Linked DNA regions of Homo sapiens: regions 2, 3, 4, 5, 6 and 7 are each linked to region 1. Evidence: promoter capture Hi-C in 16 types of primary human blood cells and fetal thymus (Javierre and others, 2016). All regions are on one chromosome and are shown on one strand. Each heading gives the region's core, a stretch centred on a gene start or on the middle of the fragment in contact. The rest is flanking DNA. Distances are from core to core; before and after follow the strand shown.

What was found. Contacts are between HindIII fragments. The CHiCAGO score rates a contact against its expected background, and 5 or more counts as called.
Region 2: a fragment that was not itself captured here is called in contact with the fragment with the promoter of METTL4 in region 1 in 1 of 17 cell types (erythroblasts); the score reaches 7.5 in erythroblasts.
Region 3: a fragment that was not itself captured here is called in contact with the fragment with the promoter of METTL4 in region 1 in 1 of 17 cell types (erythroblasts); the score reaches 10.8 in erythroblasts.
Region 4: a fragment that was not itself captured here is called in contact with the fragment with the promoter of METTL4 in region 1 in 2 of 17 cell types (erythroblasts and megakaryocytes); the score reaches 9.2 in erythroblasts.
Region 5: a contact is called between a fragment that was not itself captured here and the fragment with the promoter of METTL4 in region 1, in 1 of 17 cell types (erythroblasts). The highest score is 5.0, in erythroblasts.
Region 6: a fragment that was not itself captured here is called in contact with the fragment with the promoter of METTL4 in region 1 in 2 of 17 cell types (erythroblasts and M1 macrophages); the score reaches 6.0 in erythroblasts.
Region 7: a fragment that was not itself captured here is called in contact with the fragment with the promoter of METTL4 in region 1 in 4 of 17 cell types (total CD4 T cells, megakaryocytes, naive CD8 T cells and 1 more); the score reaches 6.2 in total CD4 T cells.

The regions. Positions count from the first base shown.
Region 1 is chr18:2,569,824-2,573,168 of GRCh38, reverse strand. METTL4 (methyltransferase 4, N6-adenosine) reads left to right here and starts at 1,664. Exons shown (of 9, transcript NM_022840.5): 1 at 1,664-2,020. NDC80 (NDC80 kinetochore complex component) reads right to left here and starts at 1,612. Exons shown (of 17, transcript NM_006101.3): 1 at 1,486-1,612; 2 at 83-192. The coding sequence starts at 183. RefSeq lists enhancers at 1,607-1,766, 1,649-2,571. The HindIII fragment of the contact is 2,186 bases long and covers 1-1,910 here.
Region 2 is chr18:793,608-797,222 of GRCh38, reverse strand. The region is part of intron 1 of YES1 (YES proto-oncogene 1, Src family tyrosine kinase); the gene reads left to right. Among named protein-coding and RNA genes, the nearest start is that of YES1, 17 kb to the left of the region's middle. The HindIII fragment of the contact is 4,646 bases long and covers 1-3,615 here.
Region 3 is chr18:659,311-662,503 of GRCh38, reverse strand. It overlaps TYMS (thymidylate synthetase), which reads right to left. Exons shown (of 7, transcript NM_001071.4): 2 at 2,790-2,863; 3 at 184-358. Among named protein-coding and RNA genes, the nearest start is that of TYMSOS, 2.6 kb to the right of the region's middle. The HindIII fragment of the contact is 864 bases long and covers 921-1,784 here.
Region 4 is chr18:706,982-710,471 of GRCh38, reverse strand. The region is part of intron 1 of ENOSF1 (enolase superfamily member 1); the gene reads left to right. Among named protein-coding and RNA genes, the nearest start is that of ENOSF1, 3.9 kb to the left of the region's middle. The HindIII fragment of the contact is 1,477 bases long and covers 1,456-2,932 here.
Region 5 is chr18:727,725-731,211 of GRCh38, reverse strand. The region is part of intron 11 of YES1 (YES proto-oncogene 1, Src family tyrosine kinase); the gene reads left to right. Among named protein-coding and RNA genes, the nearest start is that of ENOSF1, 17 kb to the right of the region's middle. The HindIII fragment of the contact is 6,709 bases long and covers 1-3,487 here.
Region 6 is chr18:677,217-680,375 of GRCh38, reverse strand. ENOSF1 (enolase superfamily member 1) reads left to right here. Exons shown (of 16, transcript NM_017512.7): 12 at 1,639-1,680; 13 at 2,504-2,633; 14 at 2,932-3,031. Among named protein-coding and RNA genes, the nearest start is that of TYMSOS, 21 kb to the right of the region's middle. The HindIII fragment of the contact is 7,224 bases long and covers 1-3,159 here.
Region 7 is chr18:815,910-819,240 of GRCh38, reverse strand. No RefSeq gene overlaps it. Among named protein-coding and RNA genes, the nearest start is that of YES1, 5.3 kb to the right of the region's middle. The HindIII fragment of the contact is 6,417 bases long and covers 1-3,331 here.

The DNA.
Region 1 (3,345 bases), core at 415-2,914:
ATCTTTATATTAACTATTTCTTATGATTTCTTTGCCTAAGATGATAAAGCATGCAAATTAGAACCACAAGGGAAATACTCACGTTTGAGGGGTATAGAGGCCTTGTTTATTTACATCCTGGGATCTTAACTCCTGCATGGAGAGGCGGCCAGCACCACCGCTGGAAACTGAACTGCGCTTCATGCTTATGACCTACATTCACGAATTCAGTATTTAAAAAAAACTTTCCAGACAGAGATGGTACATTAAGCAACTATTTATCCTTAAACAGAAAGACAGTCAGGTTTCATTGTTTCTTCAAGATCATCATCTTTCCCCTGGGGTATCTCTTTTTTGTTCATGTACACTGAAGTTCTCATTTGCAAGGAACATCTATTTAATTCCATTTAAAAATATTCAACATAAACATTTATTAACTGCCCACTATATATATAGGGGAGTGTGCTAGGCAATGCAGGAGATGCAAAGACGAGTAAGTTACGGTTTTTGCCTTCACAAGGGTATCCGTGGTAGCTAAAGCCCTGTCTGTTACCCAGACCACATTACTGCTGTTGGCTGTGCCTATTTCAATAGGAAGACAAAAAAATTACCTCAAATTCTCTTATTCACCTCAAAATGTTTCCTTTTCTTTGGTTTCAGAGAATGGAATTATTCTGTTTTCCTAATGTCAATCTCTCCTGCTCTGTCCTTAACCCATTGTTTCCTCAATTACTGCCCTTTTGGCATCAATCTCCCCTTCAACAAGGATAAATCATCCGGTCCATAAAATGGTCTATAGGCTGCCTCCATTTACAAACCACATTAACAGGTCACTCCCTTCACATCTGCTAAAAAATTTGTCTCCTAGGATACACATGATTGACAAAACTTTTGATCCTGTCTCATCTCTGCACCCAGCCTTCTCAGGTCCTGCCCTGGCTTTCAGGAAGGTGACAATCCTTTTACTTCTCTGGGTACTCCTTAGTCTTTTACACTGATTAGACTCTTCTTGATTTTGGCCGCCTATTTCCTCTTCAATATGCGCTTGTTCATCTATTCAACTTTTCCACTCACACCTGTGTGTCCACGTTTAATCTCCACTTAGAATGTAGCTCTCATGATTTAAGATGAAGACTTCTACACGCAGTCCTACACGGCCATAAGAAGCTACACTAGTATTCAGACGCAACCCACCCAACGAGTCCTCTCTTGTCCATCTCTTTCCGCCCCCTTCAATTCTTCCCCGTTTCCTCTCCCGAGCCTCCACTCCTCATCAGTGTCCCCCAGGCCCTCCCCTTTCCTCCTTGGGAAATCGTTGCCACTAGAAATTTAATAGATCCCGTGAAACCAGCGCCTCGCACAGTTTTGGCCTCGAGGCTTCTCCCAACAGCAAACAAACACCAAAACATCGCCTCAGGACCTCTAAATTTAAGTCATTGGCGCCATCACTTTCTTCCTCCAGAACAGCTCTGCAGAAACAAAGTTAATCCGATGTCATTCAGTCACCTTTTTTCCAGTTTCCTGACACGACCCAGGGACCGAATTTCTGTAAACCGTGCAAGTATCTGCTAGACAGGACAGCGGTCATCAAAACACCAGGTCCTTCCTCGGCCCGCCAAAGCCGTTCGAATTTGAAATTCTCCGCCGGCGCTGACGTCATTACGCACGACGCGCGCAGTAACTTCCATGCGACCGCCTCGTCGCTGGAAGGCTGCGTGCTGGTCGCGCCCAGCTGCGTCACCCCAGGAACTGGGGTCTGTGGGCCAGTGTGGCCGTCTCTACGAAGACTGGCACGACCCCTAAAGTTAGGTCGGAAGACCTGTGGGCAGCTTGAGCGCCGAGGAGTGCCCTGAACGCTCAACTCGCCCTGGAAACGTTTTTCCGTACAGCAACATGGCGGCGCCCATGGACTCTTAGAAAAGGAGAAAGCTTTTTCTCTGTGGACTGGAAGGGGCATTTTTCATGATCACTATTTAGATGGGTGCTGTTTTCATGAGGAGAGTCTGGGAAGGCGGCGTCCGCTTTTCTGACAAGGGAAGAGGTGAGGTGGGAGAGGGGCTGCGGAGTGGGTGGAATGGGCTCCCAGGATTGCGTTGGTACGGCTGCCGAAATTCGGGCTCAGTATTTGATCACTTGCCGGAGGCTCACGGTCCTCTGGTGGTGGCTGACCTGTGAGAGGCTAGGAAGAATCCAAGTGTTTGGGGGCGGGCGGCGAGGGAGTGGATGTGAAGCAGAGACGCAGGAGAGGGGTGCACTAACAACAGTAACAGTAGATCACTTTGCTAAAATAGGATTTCCTCGCTGCTGTGAGTTTGAATCCAGAAACAGGCACTGCCCGGTACCTGGAGAGTGGTGGTGATGAAAGATCTCACAGCTCCAGGAAGTCTGGATACTTGGGTCTGGTAGCAATTGTGCCATTAACTAGCGTTGTTATTTTTGGGCAGCTTGCCTTTCTGCTCTGAGTTTCAATTTTCCCGTCTGAATTTCTAGCTCTCACTAGCCATTCCAGGACCCTTTTCACCTCAGCTGTGGCCTATGAAGGGGATGGGGAGGAACCAAGGATTATATTAATATAAAAATTATATGAAAATTAGGCAACCGTCTGATAATAAAAAGTCTCCTTGTGGAATACTGTTAGGTTAAACTTTACCTACAGATTGTTAAATCCTTAGCACTAATGTTTTCCCCAGAAAAGATTAATGGAAACATCATTTGCTTTTCTGACTAGATAGTTGCTGCTTCCAAAGGTGGTTTTACACAAATACAAAATTAAAAACACCTTTAGTACAGAAATAATTGCTTGTATTTCGGTATACATTCACAGTACAGTTCAGCATTTAGTGGTCCTGCTAGCAATTTGCCAGGAAGTCAAGCCTGCCAATTTCCTGATATTCCTGCTGTGCACCCCAACTTCTTAATCCCTGCTGAGGATCTTGAGAAGCAGCAGCACCAAAACCAAAGTAGGCACCAAATTCAAGGTTCTTTTGGTTCCGGTTGTCACATTTCAAGCTAGACTCCAATAGATGGAAGGATGATCACATGTGAGCCCTGTTTAAAACTTCAATTTTTAAGAGCAAGCACAATTGCAGGAAAAGAAAACAATTCAGAGGGATCATGTGTGCTTACAGTTGTCTTCATGTGGCCTTTTCCCAGGTTTAACCACCAAGGACCCTGACAGCCGGGGTGTCTGAATAACCCTGGTGACTCTTTTCACCATATCAAAACCTGAGTTAAAAGGCTGATGATAACAGCAGAAGGTGGCAGGGCTGAGGACCCACTATTAATTTCCTAGGCTGGTGGAGAGTGAATAAATGTTCTTCCAACCTTACCTTATGGCTTCTGGTCAAAGCAAAGAAGTGTCGTGGA
Region 2 (3,615 bases), core at 778-3,277, 1.8 Mb after region 1:
GTGGTGAACTGCTTGCTCATAATCTTTACCAGTTTTACTATTGGGTTATTTGTCTTTTTCTTACAGGTTTTTAGGGACTCTTCAATATATTATAGATATTCTTTCTTTGTCTTTATGTTGCAAAGACTTTTCCATGTCTGTGCATAATGTTCCTTCTGTAACTTTTGGATTTTGTGTTTCAAGAATATTTTCTCCACTTGAAGATGATGTTAAAAATTCTACTTACAGGTTTTTGTTTTGTTTTGTCTTACAAGTCATTTAGCTCTATACTCTGGATTTTATGTATGTTGTGAGGTAATTTTTTTTTCCTCAGATGATATACCTCACTACTGCTAGTTATTAAATCTATTTTCACACTGGTTCAAAATGCCACCTTTTAGTGTTTGCAAATTCTTTTTACTCTTGGGCCTGTTTCTGGGCTCTTTCTTTTGAGGGATTTAATTGTTTATTTTATTTATTTATTTTATGAGACAGAGTCTTCCTCTGTCACCCAGGCCAGTGCAGTGGTGCCATCTTGGCTCACTGTAACCTCCACCTCCCGGGTTCAAGTGATTCTCCTGCCTCAGCAACTGAGACTACAGATGCCTGCCACCACGCCCGGCTAATTTTTGTATTTTTAGTAGAGACGGGTTTCACTATGTTGGGCAGGCTGGTCTTGAGCTCCTGACCTTGTGATCTGCCCGCCTCGGTCTCCCAAAGTGCTGAGATTACCAGCGTGAGCCACTGCACCCGGCCTAATTGTTTGTTTCTATGCCAATACCAAATAGCTTGATGCTGTTGATTATAACCATGATAACAGCAACTAATGTGTATTGATAATTGACTGTGTGACAGTCCCTGTATAAATACTTTAACATATTTAGCTAACTCATTTCTCACAGAACCTTCAACAGTTAAGTATTCTTGATATCTTTATTTTTACAGATAAAGAAATAGGCTTCAAGAGGTTAAATTTACTCAAATTACACGCTAGGACTGTAACCTAACTTTGTGACTCCAGAGCCTATACCCTTAACCATGAGGCTGTGATTCCTAGAAGGACAAATTTCCTGTTTTCCTTTTCAAAACTTTCTCAGCTATTCATATGCATTTACTTTTTCATGTGAACTTCATTGTGATTTTGATTTAATGTTACTTAGATTTATGTAGGAAGGATGGGCATCTTTGTAATGTACCTTCTAAAAATAAGTGATGTGTTTATTTTTTGAGATTGTCTTTTATATCCCAGTTTTATTATATAGACTCTGAACTTTTGTTTTACTTACTCATAGGTCTTATGTGTGTGTGTGTGTGTGTGTGTGTGTGTGTGTTTAAGTTCTGGGATACATGTGCTGAACGTGCAGGTTTGTTACATGGGTACACATGTGCCATGGTGTTTTGCTTCACCTATCAACCCGTCATCTAGTCTTAAGCCCCGCATGCATTAGGTATTTCTCCTAATGCTCTCCCTCCCCTTCCCCCCACCCCCTAACAGGCCCCAGTGTGTGATGTTCCCCTCCCTGTGTCCATGTGTTCTCATTGTTCATCTCCCACTTATAAGTGAGAACATACGGTGTTTGGTTTTCTGTTCCTGTGTTAGTTTGCTGAGGATGATGATTTCCAGCTTCATCCATGTCCTTGCAAAGGACATGAACTCATTTCTTTTTTATGGCTGCATAGTATTCCATGGTGTATAGGTGCCACATTTTCTTTATCCAGTCTATCATTGATGGGGATATGGGTTGGTTCCAAGTCTTTGCTGTTGTAAATAGTGCTGCAAGTTTATTTAGAAATAACTTCAAAGTTCAGAAAAGTTGCAAGAGTAGCACAAAGAACTGGATACCCTCCACCCAGATTTACCAGTTGTTAACATTTTGTCACATTTCCTTTATGTTTCCCTCCTTGGGTATGTGTGTATACGTGTCCCCACCACCACCATTTGAAAGTTAATTGCAAATGGCATGTCTCAGTACCCTTAAATATTTCAGTATGTATTTCCTAAAACAAGGACGTTTTCTTATACAACTGCAGTACAGTTACTGAATTCAACAAGTTCAACATCAGTATAATACAGTTACCTAATTTGCAGTTGCGGATTCAGTTATGTTCCCCAAAAGGGTCCTAACCCTCAGTACCTGTGAATGTGGCCTTATTTGGAAATAGCATCCTTTGGGAGGCCAAGGCAGGCGGATCACGAGATCAGTAGATTGAGACCATCCTGGCTAATGGGTGAAACCTTGTCTATACTAAAAATACAAAAATTAGCCAGGCATGGTGGCACGCGCCTGTAGTTCGAGCAACTTGGGAGGCTGAGGCAGGAGAATTGCTTGAACCCGGGAGGCAAGGTTGCAGTGAGCCGAGATTGCACCACTGCTCTCCAGCCTGGGCGACAGAGTGAGACTCCGTCTCAAAAAACAAAACAAAACAAAAACCAAAAACCCACATGTGAAGACAGACACCCAGAGAGAATGCCTTGTGACAACAGAGGCAGAAATTGGTGGGATGCACCTGTAAGCCAGGAGCACGAAGGATTGCCAGCTACCATCAGAAGCTAGGAGGAGGCAAGGAAGGATGGTATCCAGAGTGTCAGGGGGAGCATAGCCCTGCTGACACTTGAATTTTGGACATCCTGCCTCCAGAACTATGACATAATAAATTTGTTATTTTAAGCCATTTTTTTTCTACAGCAGCCCTAGGAGGGAACAATAAAGGAAATGTGGCAAGGAAAGTAATACAGTAGTTCATATATTTTTCCAATTGTCCTAATAATATTCTTTATAACAAAAATCCAAAATCCAATCTAGAAATACATGTTGCATTTAATTGTCATGTTTCTTTAGTCTCCTTTAATCTGAACAGTTCTTCAGGCTTTATCTTTCATGACATTGATATTTTTAAAAGTTAGACTACTGGTTTTGTATAGTGTACATCGATGAGTTTTTGTTTGATGTTTCCTCATGATTTGATTTAGATTATGAATTTGAGGCAGGAGTACCACTTAAAGGCTATTATGTTCTTCAGAGTACAAGACATCAGGAGGCACGCTGTGTTAGTCTATCCTACTATTGGCAGTATTAACTTTGATTACTTAGTTAAGTGATATCTGTCAGGTTTCATCACCACAAAATGAACATATTTCTCTTTTTAGTAAATTACAGATAAGGTAATAGTTTTTGCTTCCATTGATGATTCCTTGGCTGAATTAATTATTGCAGTAAGAGTTGTTCTGGGATACGTGTGCTGAATGTGTAGCTCTCTTACTCCAAGTTTAGTAGTTGGGATTCTGTAAGAGAGAACCTTCCTGTCCTTATTTATTTATCAGAGTGACTTATGGATTATCTTAGTCAACTAGTTGTAATCTGTTAGTGTCACCATTTTTTTTTCTTGATGCTCAGATTCTGTGTTTGGTCAGCAAGAGCCTCTTCAAACTAGTTCCTATGTACTTTTGATAGATCCCTATCATTTGTTGAGTACTACTTTATAACTATTTTTGGTATATTACAAAACTACTTATTTCTCAATATATTTTTGTAGCTGCTCTATAGAAATCTGTGTCTGATAGCTTTTCAGTTAATTCTCTTACTTTTTTTGTATAAGGGATCATGCAGGTCAGACACAGTGGCTCACACCTGTAAT
Region 3 (3,193 bases), core at 103-2,602, 1.9 Mb after region 1:
AGTGTGAAACGGCCTTCATGAGGCTTAATTGTGGCTTAACCTGGCACCACCCCTCACAAGGTCAAAGCTATACATCAGCTCCTGTGACATTGACTCATCCCCCAGACCTTATCTAAAACAACGGAGCAAACACATGCTAGGAAGGGCACCCGGGAAATGGAAGGCATTGTTCTATCTCCTCACCTGATTCCATATCTCTGTATTCTGCCCCAAAATGCCTCCACTGGAAGCCATAAACTGGGCCCAAGTCCCCTTCTTCTCTGGTGGAGAATCCCAGGCTGTCCAAAAAGTCTCGGGATCCATTGGCATCCCAGATTTTCACTCCCTTGGAAGACAGCTCTTTAGCATTTGTGGATCCCTGGAAGAGATGGGGAGAGCAGAGCAGGCATCCAGGTAAATCCTAAGCCATCTCAGTTGATCCCCCCGAGACACCACTTACAAGGGCCTCTGGCCCCTGCTGACTTGCTAGGAGGTGGGCACTTGACACCACCCATATGGAACCCATCCTTTTTTTTGTTTTTTGAGAGTTTCGCTCTTGTTGCCCAGGCTGGAGTGCAATGGCGCGATCGTGGCTCACGGCACCCTCCACCTCCCAGGTTCAAGCGATTCCCCTGCCTCAGCCTCCCGAGTAGCTGGGATTACAGGCATGCGCCACTACACCCAGCTAATTTTGTATTTTTAGTAGAGACAGTGTTTCTCCATGTTGGTCAGGCTGGCCTCGAACTCCTGACCTCAGGTGATCCGCCCACTTCGGCCTCCCGAAGTGCTGGGATTACAGGCGTGAGCCACCACACCCAGCTGCCCATCCTATCTTTAAGTAGGCTGGTCCCAGCCCAGATTCCTGAGGGCTTTAGGACAGTCTGATCCCTTCTTTGGAACCACCCTCCCAGATCTTTTCTTCCATTCCCCTCAACTAAGCTTTTTAGGCTAAACACCTCCAAGTGCTTTTAAGTATTCCACCGATCTGACAGTTTTATGTTTCTTAATGAAATGTGTTGTCTATATGTAATACCCCAAAATGAATTTAATGCCTACATGCAATCTGTTCAATGTATCTTCTACCTGGCATACAGGATATTCCTAATGATCAGACTAATCAGTATTTTACAGTGCAGGTGCCTCAACTCCTGTATTTGATCGAGTCACCAATGGAGTAACTCCAACTATCAAGGTGAGTCTGACATTCCTGGCAAGGATTCCTTAGAATCCTGAATTGAAGCATTAAGTTGAAACAGGGGAATGCATTTTATTTCTGAGTATCTTGCTTCCTCCCTTTCTATTGTTGAGTTTGTCCCGATTTTCTTTGATTGAGAAAGAATCAAAGAAATTTCCAACAAATCAAAGAAATTTCTCCAATTGAGAAATTTCCAACAAATCATTTCTCAATCTTTTACATATTGCTTCAAAAGTCTCTCCTTTTCATCCATTCAGACCAGGCTCTAGCCAGTTTAAGAATGTTGTCTTCTGAGGTTTCTGATGATATGTTTCAAATCCAAGGTTCATTGTTAGTCAAGATAGGCCAATACAGAACAAAATACCCCAAGAATACAGAGCTAAGGCAGACCTGGGGCTGGATCCAAATTGAAGCCCTTTCTAAAATGGGATAAGAGGGCTTGGGTCTGGCTTGCCCCAAGACCATACAAGCCATACCAAGTGCTCTATAGAAGGGATCCCAGCTTCTAGTATGGCCCAGACCTGAGCCCAGACCTCAGCCACCTTCCAAAAAGCACTGGTCAGAAAGAACATCGCTGGTTCTAGACCAGGACACGGAACACAGAGAAGCTTGGTCTGGGCTGCTGCCTGTCTTCACAGCACTCTGGCCCCGGCCTGAGGTACCTACTCAGCCCTCTGGAAGGGGTTCACCTTGTTACTGAAGAGACTCTTCTAGAATTTATATGAACATGGGAACACAGGTGGTATCTACATTTAGTGATCAATATATGTTGACTCCTACTATGTGGCAGGCTGTGTTTGAGGCCCTGGCGATACAACAGTGAACACGAGAAACAAATCCTCTGCCCTCATAAAGCTTACAGCACATTTCACTTTTACTACCTGCTGTCCCCCTTCTAACAGGGGAAGGGAAAGGCTGACATACATCAGATGGTGATGTTCGTCTATGGAGAAACACCAAGGAGGTTGGGGGAGAGTCACAGTTTTAAATCAGGAGGTCTAGGAAGGCTTGCCCGAGTGGAGTAGAGACTCAAAGGAAGAAGCCAAGTGTGGGGGAAGAAGGTTCCAGGGAGTGGGGATGTCCCGGTGTGCTCAAAAACTCACAAGAACAGCAGGGCTGGTGCAGAGAGCAGCAGCTAAGGTCAGAGCTGAAAAACGGACACCATAAGGACCGTGGCTCTTACTGAGTGAAATGGAGCCACTAAGGGCTTGAGGGTGAGGAATGATATGCTTTGACCTTTGGTGGTGTCTTTTTTTGTTTTTGACATGGGTTCTCCCTCTGTCGCCCAGGCTGGAGTACAGTGCCACGATCTCAGCTCACTACAACCTCCGCCTCGTGAGCAATTCTCATGCCTCAGCCTCCTGAGTAGCTAGGATTACAGACATGCACCAGCACACCTGGCTAATTTTTTGTGTTATTAGTAGAGACTGGGGTGTCGCCATGTTGGCCAGGCTGGTCTCAAATTCCTAACCTCAGGTGATCTGACTCAGCCTCCCAAAGTGGTGGGATTACAGGCGTGAGCCACCACACCTGGCTGCTTTGAGTTTTGAAAGGATCTCACTGGCTGCTGTGTTGAGAACAGACTACTGACTTCTAATAGCAGCGACTTCTTTACCTTGATAAACCACAGCAACTCCTCCAAAACACCCTTCCAGAACACACGTTTGGTTGTCAGCAGAGGGAATTCATCTGAAAAACAATTTGCCATACGGTTTCAAGATGGGAAGACAGATCATGCCATCCAACTTTCTTCAGGGAAGAAAACTGCCCTGGGACGTGAGGCCCTGGAGCATCCAGAAAGCCTAGACTCCCGCAAAGTGGGCCAGAGATCACGGTGGAGCTCCCAGGCTGCAAGTCCCATCAGTGGCCCGATTCAGGCTGAGACAGCACTTCTGTGCCCCGGTGACCAGTGGACACAGGAATTCCACACAGTGAGATGGTGGCGAGGGCAGGGATGAACATGTGGCAAAAGGGAGGAGCTATCATCCACTGCCCACTAGTGCTAATCCTGTCACAAAG
Region 4 (3,490 bases), core at 945-3,444, 1.9 Mb after region 1:
CAGAAGGAATCCCTAATCTAGACTTGACTTTGAATTTGTGAAATGTTAAGACAGCCTGGTTTGGCTGAGCGTGGTGGTTCAAGCCTATAATCCCAGCACTTTGGAAGGCCAAGGCAGGTGGATCGCTTGAGCCCAGGAGTTCGAGACCAGCCTGAGCAACATAGTGAGACCTCGTCTCAACAAAAAAATACAAAAATTAGCTGGGCGTAGTTGCATGCACCTGTGGTCCCAGCCACTCAGGAGGCTGAGGTGGGAGGATCTCTTGAGTCCAGGAGGTCGAGGCTGCAGTGAGCTGTAATTGTGTCACTGCACTCCAGCCTGGGTGAGAGAGAGAGACCCTGTCTCAAAAGACAGCCTGGTTTACTGTAGAATAATTCAAGAAATGGAATTTGCCTCTGGGCCTGAGTGATGTCTAACACAGGGTAAGGAGACATTATCTAACACCTGTATTGCAAGCTCATAAATACTTAAGCATTTTATCTTGGGGAGATAGGGTGTATGTTGTGTGCCAGCTCTCAAGTGCCTTCTTATTAGAATGAGCTGTTTTGCAGTTCACCATGGAGATGGCTTCACATGCCCTCGAGGCATGCTGGACCATCAGCACTTAGCAAAGTGAGCCTCCCTGATCAGAAGTAGGATATTTTCAAGAAAGAGCAATAAAGCTGTCCTCAAAATCTGCTAAAGACTCCTGCTTTTTTTTTTTAGACAGAGTCTCGCTTGTTGCCCAGCCTGGAGTGCAGTGGTGCAATCTCATCTCACTGCAACCTCTGCCTCCCATATGCAAATGATTCTCGTACCTCAGCCTCTGGAGTAGCTGTGATTACAGGTGTGCACCACCACACCTGGCTAATTTTTGTATTTTTGGTAGAGACGGGGTTTCACCATGTTGTCCAGGCTGGTCTCGAACTCCTGAGCTCAGGTGATCCACCTGCCTCGGCCTCCCAAAGTGCCGGATTACAGGCATGAGCCACTACTCCGGGCTTACCTCCTTCTTAATCTGAAATCTACTTCTGTTCCTTTCTTCTCTGTGAATTGCCCTTGTTATTTCTCCTTCAGCTGTCCTTACCCTCAGATACGTTTTCCGCTGTCGGCTGCCTCTTCTTCGTGTGCTCTCTCCCCTCGTGGCCTCCTGCCTTTCTGACAGCTCCTTCTTCCTCCACTGGCCCCTTCTTCCCTCTCTGAGGCTCAGGCCTCAGTGTCTTTCCGGTCTCCCTACACACTCCCATGAAGACCCTCTCCGCATTCTGACTTCGGTGCCACCCTTTATGCCGGAGACTCCCAGATCTCATTTCCGGATCTGCCTCCTTAACTTATAGGTCTGGATACTTCCTGTTTGGTTTTTCACCTTCATGCTAAACGCAGTTTGTCTAAATCGGAAGTCAACTTCCATTCTCTGCCGCCCCTCCCTCCTGACCCATGTTGGATCATTCCGCTAATCACAGGGACCCAAAAGCTTCGAGTCACTTTTGGCTCATCTCGTCCTGTTGACCCTCATCTGAGGCTTCAGTGCAAGGTTTCCTTTTTCCATTGCTTCCTCTTCTTGGAACCCAGAAACTGCCGATGGGTCTTTAATTCTTGGAGTCTCCTTCTCAGCCTCATCGCTCAACTCCTTCAGGAACCCAATGGCTCAGCCAACCCAGGTGGGCACCAACACTTGAATACACTCCAGTCTCTCCCTCTTCTGACCCCTTTACTTTCTGCACTGCTGCTGCTGCTACCTTGCCTGAGATATTCCTCCCTCCCAGACTCTTCACTCCCCTTGCCACTGCTGAGGAGCTCCCCTTCCTTGACCGGCCAGCTCACATTCTGTCTTCATCATAAAGCGCTCTCCCTCTTCAAGAAGCACATTCAGCTAACAGCGCTCTCTGCCAGTCGTTCATAGTTTGCATCCCTCCCAGGCCTTAGCATTTTCTGCCTTATATTATTAAGGTTTTTTTTTAACCATGTCTTTTTATTTATTTATTTTAGAGATGGGGTCTCGCTTTGTTGCCCAGGCTAGTCTCGAACTCCTGGGCTCAAACAATCCTCCTGTCTTGGCCTCCCAAAGTGTTGGGATTACAGGTATGAGCCAGCATGCCCGTTCTATAAGCAGGTCTTCTCAAATGTAACCTCCTCAAGGGCAGACGTATCTGTAACCCCCTAGCAAGCTGCACCAGCTCTGACACGTACTTGATGCTCAGCGATGCATCACACTGATTTCCTGCCACTGGACTGTGATACCAGACTCAGGGCTCCCAGCCATCACATACAGCTCCCTCAGCCACGACACCCCAATACAGGGATTTAAAATCTGCCTTCATAATTTACTTGTGGCCGGGCGTGGTGGCTCACACCTGTAATCCTAGCACTTTGGGAGGCCGAGGCAAGTGGATCACCTGAGGTCAGGAGTTCAAGACCAGCCTGGCCAACATGGCAAAATCCCATCTTTACTAAAAAAAAAAAAAAAAAGCTGGTCATAGTGGTGGGTGCCTGTAATCCCAGCTACTTGGGAGGCTGAGGCAGAAGAATCGCTTGAATCCAGGAGGCAGAGGTTGCAGTGAGCCAAGATCATGCCACTGCACTCCAGCCTGGAGAACAGAGTGAGAGTCAGTCTCAAAAATAATAATAATAATAATAATAAAACATTATTTACTTGTGGTGTGACCTTTTGTAAATTACTAAAGCTCCTTAAAACTTCATTTCCTCTTTAATAAGGATAAGAGCACCTACTTTATAATATTGTTATAAGATTAAATTAAACCATGTGGAGCTCTTAGAATATAGTGTGTCTGGCACAATAAATATTATAGAATAATAACAGTAATAAATTTTCATAGCCTTATGCACAATTCTTCTTTATGAATGCATTCACATCTTCTGCCTGGCTTTTTGGAGTCTCCATTATTCCATGACATAGAACAAAACAAAAAATTAGTGAATTAATCTCGAAGCTTTACTTCTTCATTTTCCCCCACTGGTGTCTGAACTTTTGCCAATGTATTTTCAGCCCTGCTATAAACTGCTATAAGTGAGATCACTCCAATTTTATGCAACAGTTTTCTGAACCTTTGGCTTGTTCAATTTGAAGCTGCTTGTGAATGTAACTTTGTTCAAAAAGCTGACAGAGATAGCTGCGAGTGAAAACTCCTTGGCTTAAAATTGAGCCCCTTCCGGGCATGATGGCTCATGCCTGTAATCCCAGCACTTTAAGAGGCCCAAGCGGGTGGATCACTAGAGCTCTGGAGTTTGAGACCAGCCTGGGTAACATGCAAGACTCCATCTCTATTTTTTTATTTAAAAAATAAATAAGTAAATAAAATTGAGCCTCATTTTTTAACCTAATTGAAAATGGGTGATAAAAATGTATACATTGCGACCAGGTGCGGTGGCTCACACTTGTAATCCCAGCACTTTGGGAGGCCAAGGCAGGTGGATCACCTGAGGTCAGGAGTTCAAGACCAGCCTGGCCAACATGGTGAAACTTCGTCTCTATTAAAAATACAAAAATCAG
Region 5 (3,487 bases), core at 491-2,990, 1.8 Mb after region 1:
CATCTTCATACCTTAAACCTTAATGTTACCAATAACTGCAACCCTTTCAAAATCTATTTCATGCATCTACTTTCTGACCACCACTTGCCATCTTTCCAGATAACTCCCTCCACCCCAACCCTAGCAATTTCTTGATGCTACCAGGATCTTTACTCCACTGTTTCTGCCACCTTTTCCTGCTTCTCACCCCCTTCATGAAACAATTCTACTCCTTAAATTCCCTAGTGAAGCAGTATAATCACTCCTTTGCTGATTTCACCCTTCTCTGATTTCATCATCATTGCTTAGCAAAATCACCACATTAAATAAATCCAACTCTGCCTACACCACACTTGCAGACAGGGCTAGAAAAAAACCACACAGCCATGCAACATAGTGTCACTTTAAATGTATAACCATGAGGAACTTTCAGTTTTAGCTATGATGGAGAGGCTAATATCCAACTTATTATAGCACTGTAAACAACTACAAAAGTTAAATAAAATATGTAAAAGAACTGATAGGACATTGCATCAAGGAAGCCCATTTATATTGGCTTTTCTGAAGGCATTTTCTAAAATAGCACAGGGCAGTAAAACCCAGACAGAAAGCATAAGTCTTATTAAGCAAATGAGGCAGAGATCCTAGTGCTGGGATCTGAAGGACAGGGTCCCAGAGAAGGAACCATAGGGAAAGAACTCTAAAATTCTGCTTTAAAATTCCAGTTGGGCGTGGTGACTCACTCCTATAATCCCAGCACTTTGGGAGGCTAAGGTGGGTGGATCGCTTGAGCCCAGGAATTTGAAGCTGCAGTGAGCTATGATTGCGCCACTGCACTCCAGCCTGGGCAACAGAGCAAGACCCTGTCTCAAAAAAAAAAAAAAAAAAATCCTCTTGGGTCCTTGGTCAGTTCTAATCTGCACATACACAGGGAGAGTCTCTGGGAGACCTAACAGAAAATAGCCACTAGGAGGCTGGGGAGTCGAGCAGAGTTCAGAGGCTACAGAGTGCTGAGGAGTTCTTGCCCAGCCAAACTGGATAGATGTTGGAGAATACGCTAGGCTTTTTGTTGAGACCCCAGAAAGTCCATACCCTAGGAGAAAGGGCAAAACTGAGCAAAACTAAGCCCTAACAACTAGGTGATCTGCTGGTAAATTCCAAATGGAATTAAACTGAACATCCTTCAGAAAAAGATAACATGATCCAGATAATCTACAGTGTATGATTCAAAATGTCTAGCACAAAATAAAAAGTTACTAGATATATGAAGAAGGGAAGAGATGACTGATTATCAAGAGTTCAAAATCTGGCTGGGCGCTGTGGCTCACGCCTGTAATCCCAACACATTGGGAAGCCAAGGCGGGTGGATCACAAGGTCAGGAGTTTGAGACCAGCCTGGCCAAGATGGTAAAACCCCATCTCTGCTAAAAATACAAAAATTAGCCAGCCATGGTGGCGGGCGCCTGTAATCCCAGCTACTCGGGAGGCTGAGGCAGGAGAATCGCTTGAACCCAGGAGGTGGAGGTTGCAGTGAGCTGAGATTGCGCCGCTGCACTCTGGCCTGGGTGACAGAGCGAGACTCTGTCTCAAAAAAAAAAAAAAAAAAAAAAAAAGTTCAAAATCAATAGGAGCAGACTCTGAGATAATCCAAATCTTGGAGTTAGCAAAAGACTTCAAAATAGCAATATATGGAATGTTAAAATAGAAGAAAAGTTTTGCAAAATAATGAAAAACTGGAGAATTTGAGCAGAATTGGAATCTATTAAAAAAAAAAGAATCAAATGGAAATTGTATTTATTTATTTATTTATTTTCTTTTGGGACAGAGTCTCGCTCTGTCTCCCAGGCTGGAGTACAGTGGCACGATCTTGGTTCACTGCAGCCTCCGCCTCCCAGGTTCCAGCGATTCTCCTGCCTCAGCCTCCCAAGTAGCTGAGATTACAGGCGTGAGCCACCCCGCCTGGCCCTCAAATGGAAATTTTAGAACTGTAAAACATTATATCAAATTAAGTACTCACTAGATGGGCATAATAGAAGACAAGATTAGTGGATTCAGACACATTAACAAAGTATCCAAGGTAATGCATAGATAAAAGCTAATGGGGAAGAAAGCAGAACAGAATGTATGAAACCAGTGGGGCATAGTGAAAAGGTCTAATTTGTGGAGTCCCAGAAGCAGAAGAGAGAAAAAAATGAAACAGTAACAACATTTTTAAAAAGTAATGGCTAAAAATCTTCTAAATATGATAAAACAAAATACTAGCCCACAGATTAAGTGAACCTCAAACAAGAAAATTAAACTCAGTGAAATTCAAGCAAACATATCATGGTCAAATTACAAAAATCAAAGCCAAACAGCCATAAGGAGGTGGTGCAGATTGAGCATTCCTAATTCAAAAATCCGAAATGCAGCTGGGCGCAGTGGCTCAGGCCTGTAATCCCAGTACTTTGGGAGGTCGAGGCCAGTGGATCACGAGGTCAGGGGTTTGAGACCATCCTGGCCAATGTAGTGAAACCCCATCTCTACTAAAAATACAAAAATTAGCTGGGCATGGTGGCACACACCTGTAGTACCAGCTACTTGGAGGCTGAGGCAGGAGAATCACTTGAACCTGGGAGGCAGAGGTTGCAATGAGCCAAGATTGCACTACTGCACTCCAGCTTGGGCAACAGAGCAAGACTTCATCTCAAAGAGAAAAAAAACCGAAATGCTCCAAAATCCAAAACTTTTTGAGCATTGACATAACAACACAAATGGAAAATTCCACACCCGTCCTCATGTGACAGGTCACAGTCAAAATACCATCAAAATTTTGTTTTGTGCAGAAAATTATTTTTAAAATTATGTAAAATTACCTTCAGGCTATATGTATAAGGTGTATATGAAACATAAATGAATTTTTTTTTTTTTGAGACAGGGTCTCTGTCACCCAGGCTGGAGTGCAGTGGCACAATCAGGGCTCACTGCAGCCTCTACCTCCCTGGGCTCAGGTGATCCTCCCACCTCAGCCTCCCAAGTAGCTGAGACCACAGGTGTGTGCCATCCACCTAGCTAATTTTTGTAGAGACAGGGTCTCACCATGTTGCCCAGGATGGTCTCAAAATCCTAGGCTCAAGCGATTTGCCTGCCCTGTCCTCCCAAAGTGCCGGGATTACAGGTGCGAGCCACCGTGCCTGGCTCATAAATGTATTTTGTGTTTAGACTTGGGTCCCATCCCTTAAGATATCTCATTATGTATATGCAAATATTCCAAAATCCAAAAAAATCCAAAATCGGAAACACTTCTGGTCCCAAACATTTCAGATAAGGGATACTCAGCCTATATATTATCTACGCAGGAACAACAGTCAGACAGCTAACTTTTCCTCAGATATGGAAGCCAGGGAAGAGTGAAATTATGCCTTTAAAGTGCTTTGGGGAAAACTGCTGATCTAAAACACCAACAATAAAAAATCTTACCGAATTTATAATGTATATAAAAATAGACTGTGACAGTAACACAAAGGGT
Region 6 (3,159 bases), core at 283-2,782, 1.9 Mb after region 1:
TCCCTTTCTCTTCTCTTTGGAGATAAATAACCAAGAGTACTTAAATTAGAAATTTTAAGAAGCATAAAATGTTGGCTTGAAAAGGTGCCTTAGAGACCATCTGCTCAAACTAAGGCCTTCTGCAGATGAGGAGGCCGAGGCTTTGGGTGGCACAGGCGGGGCTTGCCCAAGGCCACACATCCCGTGAGATGCGGGGCCAGCACCGGAATCAGGGATACTTGGCTGCTGAGTGAAGGGATTTTTCTGCTGAGAAGTTGGCTTAGTCTGATTATTCAGATGCCTCCTCTGGCTCTGGAATCAGTGGAGTTCCAACCCAGTCTCTACCACTTTCTAGCTTTGTGATCCAGGAACAGTTCAAACCCGGCACACAGTTTTATCATTTTTTATAAAATGGGGATAACGCTGGCTCCTCTCCCATTGGATTGAGACCAGGAATCATTTAAGTCAGTGTTTTGCACAGCACCTGACAGGTACTCAGAGCTCCAAAAATGTTAGCTGTCAGTGTGATTACTATTACCCTAAGCAAAGGGAAGGGAAGCCAGGGAGGAACCAAGGCTACCTGTGCGGAGTAGCTGTGGAGTCGCAGTCACAGTAGAGGATGGATGGGAGCGCCCAGAGTCCAGGTGGCAGGTGACGGAGGTAGTGTTCAGGGGCCAGGTGAGAGGACAGAGAGCAGCAGGGCTGTGTTCAGGTGCAGAGTCCAGTACCTCACCAGGTGAGGACTCTACCAGGTGAGCAATGGTCTCAGCCTAACCTGCAGATTGAGGTCTGAGGCCACCCACTGAGCTGGAAGGAAGAGGATTTTTTTTTTTTTCATGGATTTTTCCTGCCTTAAGGAAGAGGATTTTGGAATCAACAAAGACATGAGGCCAGGTGCAGTGGCTCACACCTGTAATCCCAACACTTTGGGAGGCCGAGGCGGGAGGATCATCTGAGGTCAGGAGTTTGAGACCAGCCTGGCCAACATGGCAAAACCCTGACTCTATTAAAAATACAAAAATTAGCCAGCATGGTGGCGTGCACCTCTAATCCCAGCTACTCAGGAGGCTGAGGCACGAGAATCGCTTCAGCCTGGGGGGTGGAGGTTGCGGTGAGCTAAGATCATGCCACTGCACTCCAGCTTGGGTGACAGAGCAAGACTCGGTCTCAAAAAAAAAAAAAAAAAAAGATATGAGAGGGTTCTAGAAGGAGGTTTCTCAGGGAGGCAAGAAGAAGGGAATTGATGGAGTGATGACCCACAGGAAGGAGTCGTCCAAAGGTTGGACCCTGTGAGTCCACAATGAGCCACTCCGAATAGCCCTGTCCTTATGCCACTGCGCAGGCTGGAGAGGGAGGTGCTGTCCACGTTGGGAGGAGCGCAGCTGGAGCATGGGCCGGGACACCGCAGAAGGAGATCTGCAGAGCCCTGGTCAGGAACGGGGCTGGTGGTGGCAGCTCAGCAGTGCTCACCTTCTCCTCTGCAGATACACAGAGCCCTCCCGCACGCATGTGTTCCCCTGGACATCCTTTGCCAGTCTTGAGCCTTCACATGGCTTAACAGCAGGGCCGTTTCCTCCTTCAGCTATAAATGTTTTTAAACATTAGGAGTTGCAGTTCAAAACTTAGGAAAATAACACCAGGCTGCCTTCTATTTTATAGGCACTGGTCCCATTAGGAATTGGCATTGCCACAGGAGAACAGGTGAGTGACGCCCCCAACAGGTGGATGACGTCCCCTTGGGGTCAGTACACGCTGACCAGTGACCGAGGACACAGTTGTGTGTTAGGCTCCATCACCTGCTGTACTTTGAGTTGGGAAATTTTCATCATCTTAGAAACTGGGTCATTTTATCAGAGTCTAGAGTCAGATATAGAAAAAGTTTGTGGCTATTTCTCCAATTTATATGACTAAGGTCGGGTATCTTTTTCAAAGTGTCTAATTGAAATTGAAAAGGCAGCAATTTAAAGTTGCTATTGCAAGGGCAGAAAATGGTCTTAAGAAAGCCAGCTTTCAAATTGAATAAACATGACTGCGTTCACTTTTTGAGCTTATAAATGAAGCCCGAGTGCCTGCCAAAACCTGCTGCAGTCAGCCCACGAGCAGAGCAGCGTGAGGAGCTGATTCTCAGTTTTCCCGGCAAAAGGAGCAATACTGCTCTGCCGTGGTTCCGTGTTGTCATCTGTGCCACCTGCTCATCACTGTCACCGTATTTCATCCTGATGCTTCATCTCCCACTTATCAGTCGCTGTGACAGTCATTCCCTCATAAATGGCGAGCCAGTGTGATTTTGACCTGACTCACACTGTTGCATTAGCAGATTTGTAAAGAAGTGAGCACAAGGTCCCTGCCCACGCTATAAAAGCTCGCCTCATGCCCAGCGAGAACAAAGAAGAAATACAGTCTGGGCTTCCTGACGGCCACTGATGAATAATTATTGGCATAGAGTGGCTGCGTTGCCAGGTTTAGAGATCCTGAAGGCCAAGGCTGACTCTTCTGTTGGTGTTATTTTCAATTCTATTTCCAGTGCCACAATAGAGTGATATTTAAGCAACTCCTACAGGCGAAGGCCCTGCAGTTCCTCCAGATTGACAGTTGCAGACTGGGCAGTGTCAATGAGAACCTCTCAGTATTGCTGATGGCCAAAAAGTTTGAAAGTAAGCGTGCTGCAGCGGCTGCAGACCAGACCTTCATTTCCCCACTAATCAGACACCTCCCTTGATGGTTTGCAATTCACATGCATGGGAGTCTGTAGTTTGCCATTTCGATTTTTTTCTAACTCTCATTTAGCTTTAATCCGGGAATTTTTGATGATTTTCATCTTGGAATTTCCTTCCTAAATATTAATAAATGATTTAATCACCTGTGGGCAATAAGAAAAACCAGAAAGTTCCCTTTCACCCCTTCCTCTCCCTGCCCTACTCTTGGTATTAAATAGAAACGATTTCCTTTTAGTTCCTGTTTGCCCCCATGCTGGTGGAGTTGGCCTCTGTGAACTGGTGCAGCACCTGATTATATTTGACTACATATCAGTTTCTGCAAGCCTTGAAAATAGGTCAGTAATGTGGCATTAATACTTTCTGTTTCAGTAGGGTCCCTCAATCCAGGCCAGAGCTTGTAAATTCTGCCTTCATGACCAGAACACACTAAGACCTTGTCCGCTGGCATGTCCTATAACTCTCA
Region 7 (3,331 bases), core at 294-2,793, 1.8 Mb after region 1:
CTGAGATCGTGCCATTGCACTCCAGCCTGGGCACAAGAGCGAAACTTGGTCTCAAAAACAAACAAACAAAAAACCCATGAAGTTTGGTAGGATATTAATTTCCTTATCTCTGAAAATAAATTTTAATAAAGTATTTGAAAATCTATTAATGTTCACACTCCTTGGATTTCAGTACAATGTGTCCTGGTATTTATCTCTAAGTTAATAAAGTCATAAGATCTCTCTTGGCCAGGCACGGTGGCTCATGCCTGTAATCCCAGCACTTTGGGAGGCCTAGGCAGGTGGATCACGAGGTCAGGAGGTTGAGACCATCCTGGCTAACACAGTGAAACCCCGTCTCTACTAAAAAAAAATACAAAAAATTAGCCAGGCATGGTGGCGGGCGCCTGTAGTCCCAGCTACTTGGGAGGCTGAGGCAGGAGAATGGCATGAACCCGGAAAGCGGAGCTTGCAATGAGCTGAGATCGTGCCACTGCACTCCAGCCTGGGCAACAGAGAGAGGCTCCCTCTTGAGAAAAAAAAAATCTCTTAATATAGGCCAAAAGACACAGAATTTATCAGGAGGCACTCTGTTTTATGAATGAATGAGCTGATTTTTAAAATATTAAACAATCTTACCTAGTGTTGGGCTATTATTAACTGTTAATGACTTTTATCATTGAGTTACTATGGAAGGTTTAACTATACAGTTACACAGTCAGAGCAGATTAAAATACGAACCTTAATATTGACGTAACTTGGACATTTTGTATTTGGTAAGGTAATTTATGCATGTATATGGTCATTTCCCATATTTGGTTCTTTGTTGGAAGACCATGATTTTAGGTAGTGTCGATGGAAGTTTGACTTGATAGATGCAAATAACTAATCTCTCCAGAGAGTCATATTTAATACATGCTTTTTTTTCTGAAATGAATTCATTCTTTTTAGGCTAGTCTCTCATAAATCTGTTTGCTCCAACCCTTTCTTCGGGATGTGAGATTGTAATATAAAGAAGGATTTCCTTGAATTTGTACACTCTCACATTTCTTAGCTATATCTTCCTAATTTTAAAGGCAATTTACCCATTTTTATGATTCCAGAATTTAGAGAAATAATATTTTACATGGTCACTGAAATAACATTTAAAAATAATTTCTTTTTTGTAATCACAGTGACTTTGAGTAGAATAGGTTTTGGAGCATCTCCTCTTATTAGTTGTCTGTTGCTTAACCCCTCCAAGCCTGAGGCATCCAATCAGTAAATGGTGATAATACTACCAACCTCCAAGGTTATTGTGCAGATTCAGTGAATGATGTAGGTAAAGCACCTGGCATATAGTGAAGGCTCAATAAAAAGACAGCCATTGCCACTGCTGTTGTTTATCAATCCTCATGTCTGCACTGATTAATTCATTCATTCACATGACGTAAAACACCTTTCATCAAAGCATGGGTCTTACATTAAACATTTGTTGCATATGTGCTTTCCTTAGAAAAAAGAAACATTAAGTAGCTATTTCAAGTAATCAAAAGCCCTTTTCATATACAAGTCAAAGAAGATGAACATAGTTTGTTAATATTAAATGTTTTATTGTTTTTTGGTTTGTTTTTGAGACAAGAGTCTCACTCTGTCGCCCAGGCTGGAGTGCAGTGGCGTGATCTTAGCTCACTGCAACCTCTGACTCCCAAGTTCAAGCGATTCTCCTGCCTCAGCCTCCAGAGTAGCTGGGATTACAGGCGTGTACCATCATGCCTGGCTAATTTTTGTATTTTAGTAGAGAGGGGTTTTCACCATGTTGGCCAGGCTGGTCTCAAACTCCTGACCTCAAGTGATCCACCTGACTCAGCCTCCCAAAGTGCTGGGATTAGAGGCGTGAGCCACCGCGGCAGGCCTGTTTTACTCTTTACATCATATAATATCTCTAGTCAGAATTTAAAATTTGCTCAATGTGAAAAATAAGGATCTATACAGCCAAAAATGCATAAAGAAGATTTAGCCTTAGAGAGGAGATTAAAACAAGGTTTTCAAAAGCATGGATTTATTCTAAACACATTAAAAAAAAAACCCAGTTACAGTGTTACCTTGCAAAACATCTAATACAAATTTCCTTAATACTAACCTTTTATGTTTCATGATCTGATGTCCGTTAACTTTAAAGATAAGAGCTTGATTTATAGTTTCTTTTCTAAACACTCAATGCAGGTAAACAATCTACTTTAACTTCTTGCCTTCAAGCAATGTTATGTTCTACTTTTCATAACCCATTTGTAAAGATTTCCAGGAAGTAGCAATCTGGTAGCAATTTTACTGGTGTCTAAACTCAATGTCAGACACTGACACGACTATATATCAGCTTAATATTTCAGAAAAGTATGGGCCAAACACTTGCTAATGACTACAGAAATTGCAAATATAGACTCAGGAGGAAATTGTAAGCCGATAGGGCAGAGATATGAAATGGTTTTCAATGTATTCTAACTCCAGTTTTGCAGTGGCTGTTGCCTGAATTGTGTTGAGGATTCTGAGGATGGTATTAATGCTCTGGGGGAGAGTATATGCTATGCCATGGTCTAAAAGCCATGACTGCCATGGGCAAGCAGGAGGAGAGACTGACCTGCCAGCTCTGTTCTAGGTTTGGGGTCTTCTATGTGACAAAAGTCACAAGTCTCAAGTCTCAGTGTTGGGGTCCCACAATCTCTTATCTCCCACCTCTGGCTGTGCCTGCTTCATCCTCTGTGAAAACTGGATTCCCCATCCCACTCCCACTGCCTCTCCAAGCACGTGGCAGGAGATGCCACCCTCACAGCTCCTGAGTTTACTGTTGGCTGCACAAGTAAGTAGCAAAGACTAAGTAATGGTTTTCATTTGCAAAGAACAAAAATGGTCTCTATTGAAGCATAAAGGGAATTTATTGGAGGATGGTGAGAATCAACAGGAAGACTAGAGGAGCAGGCTCAGGCAGGAAGCAAGGAAGGCAAGACAAAGTCCAGGTTCTGCCACGGGGATGGTATGCTCATGACGCAGGCACCACCAGCACTGGAATCCTCTACCCCTGGACACTCATCTTCTGTCATTTGACTCAACTCCACCATGGTTACCATGAATAATCACTAACCGAGTTACTTTTGTGTTACTCCTCAAAATTCAAACTTTCAGCCTAGAACCTGGGATTAGCAGTACTCAGATCATAGGCCTACATGCCACCTATCGAAGAATTAATTCTCAGAGAAGAGGAACTTGAGTTAAACAGGCACCCTCAAGAGGTGTCCACTACAGGCTGTATTCTACTCGGCAGAGGGCATGTAAGAGGATGTAAGGTGCTCATCTGGCCTAGAAACTGCTGTCACCA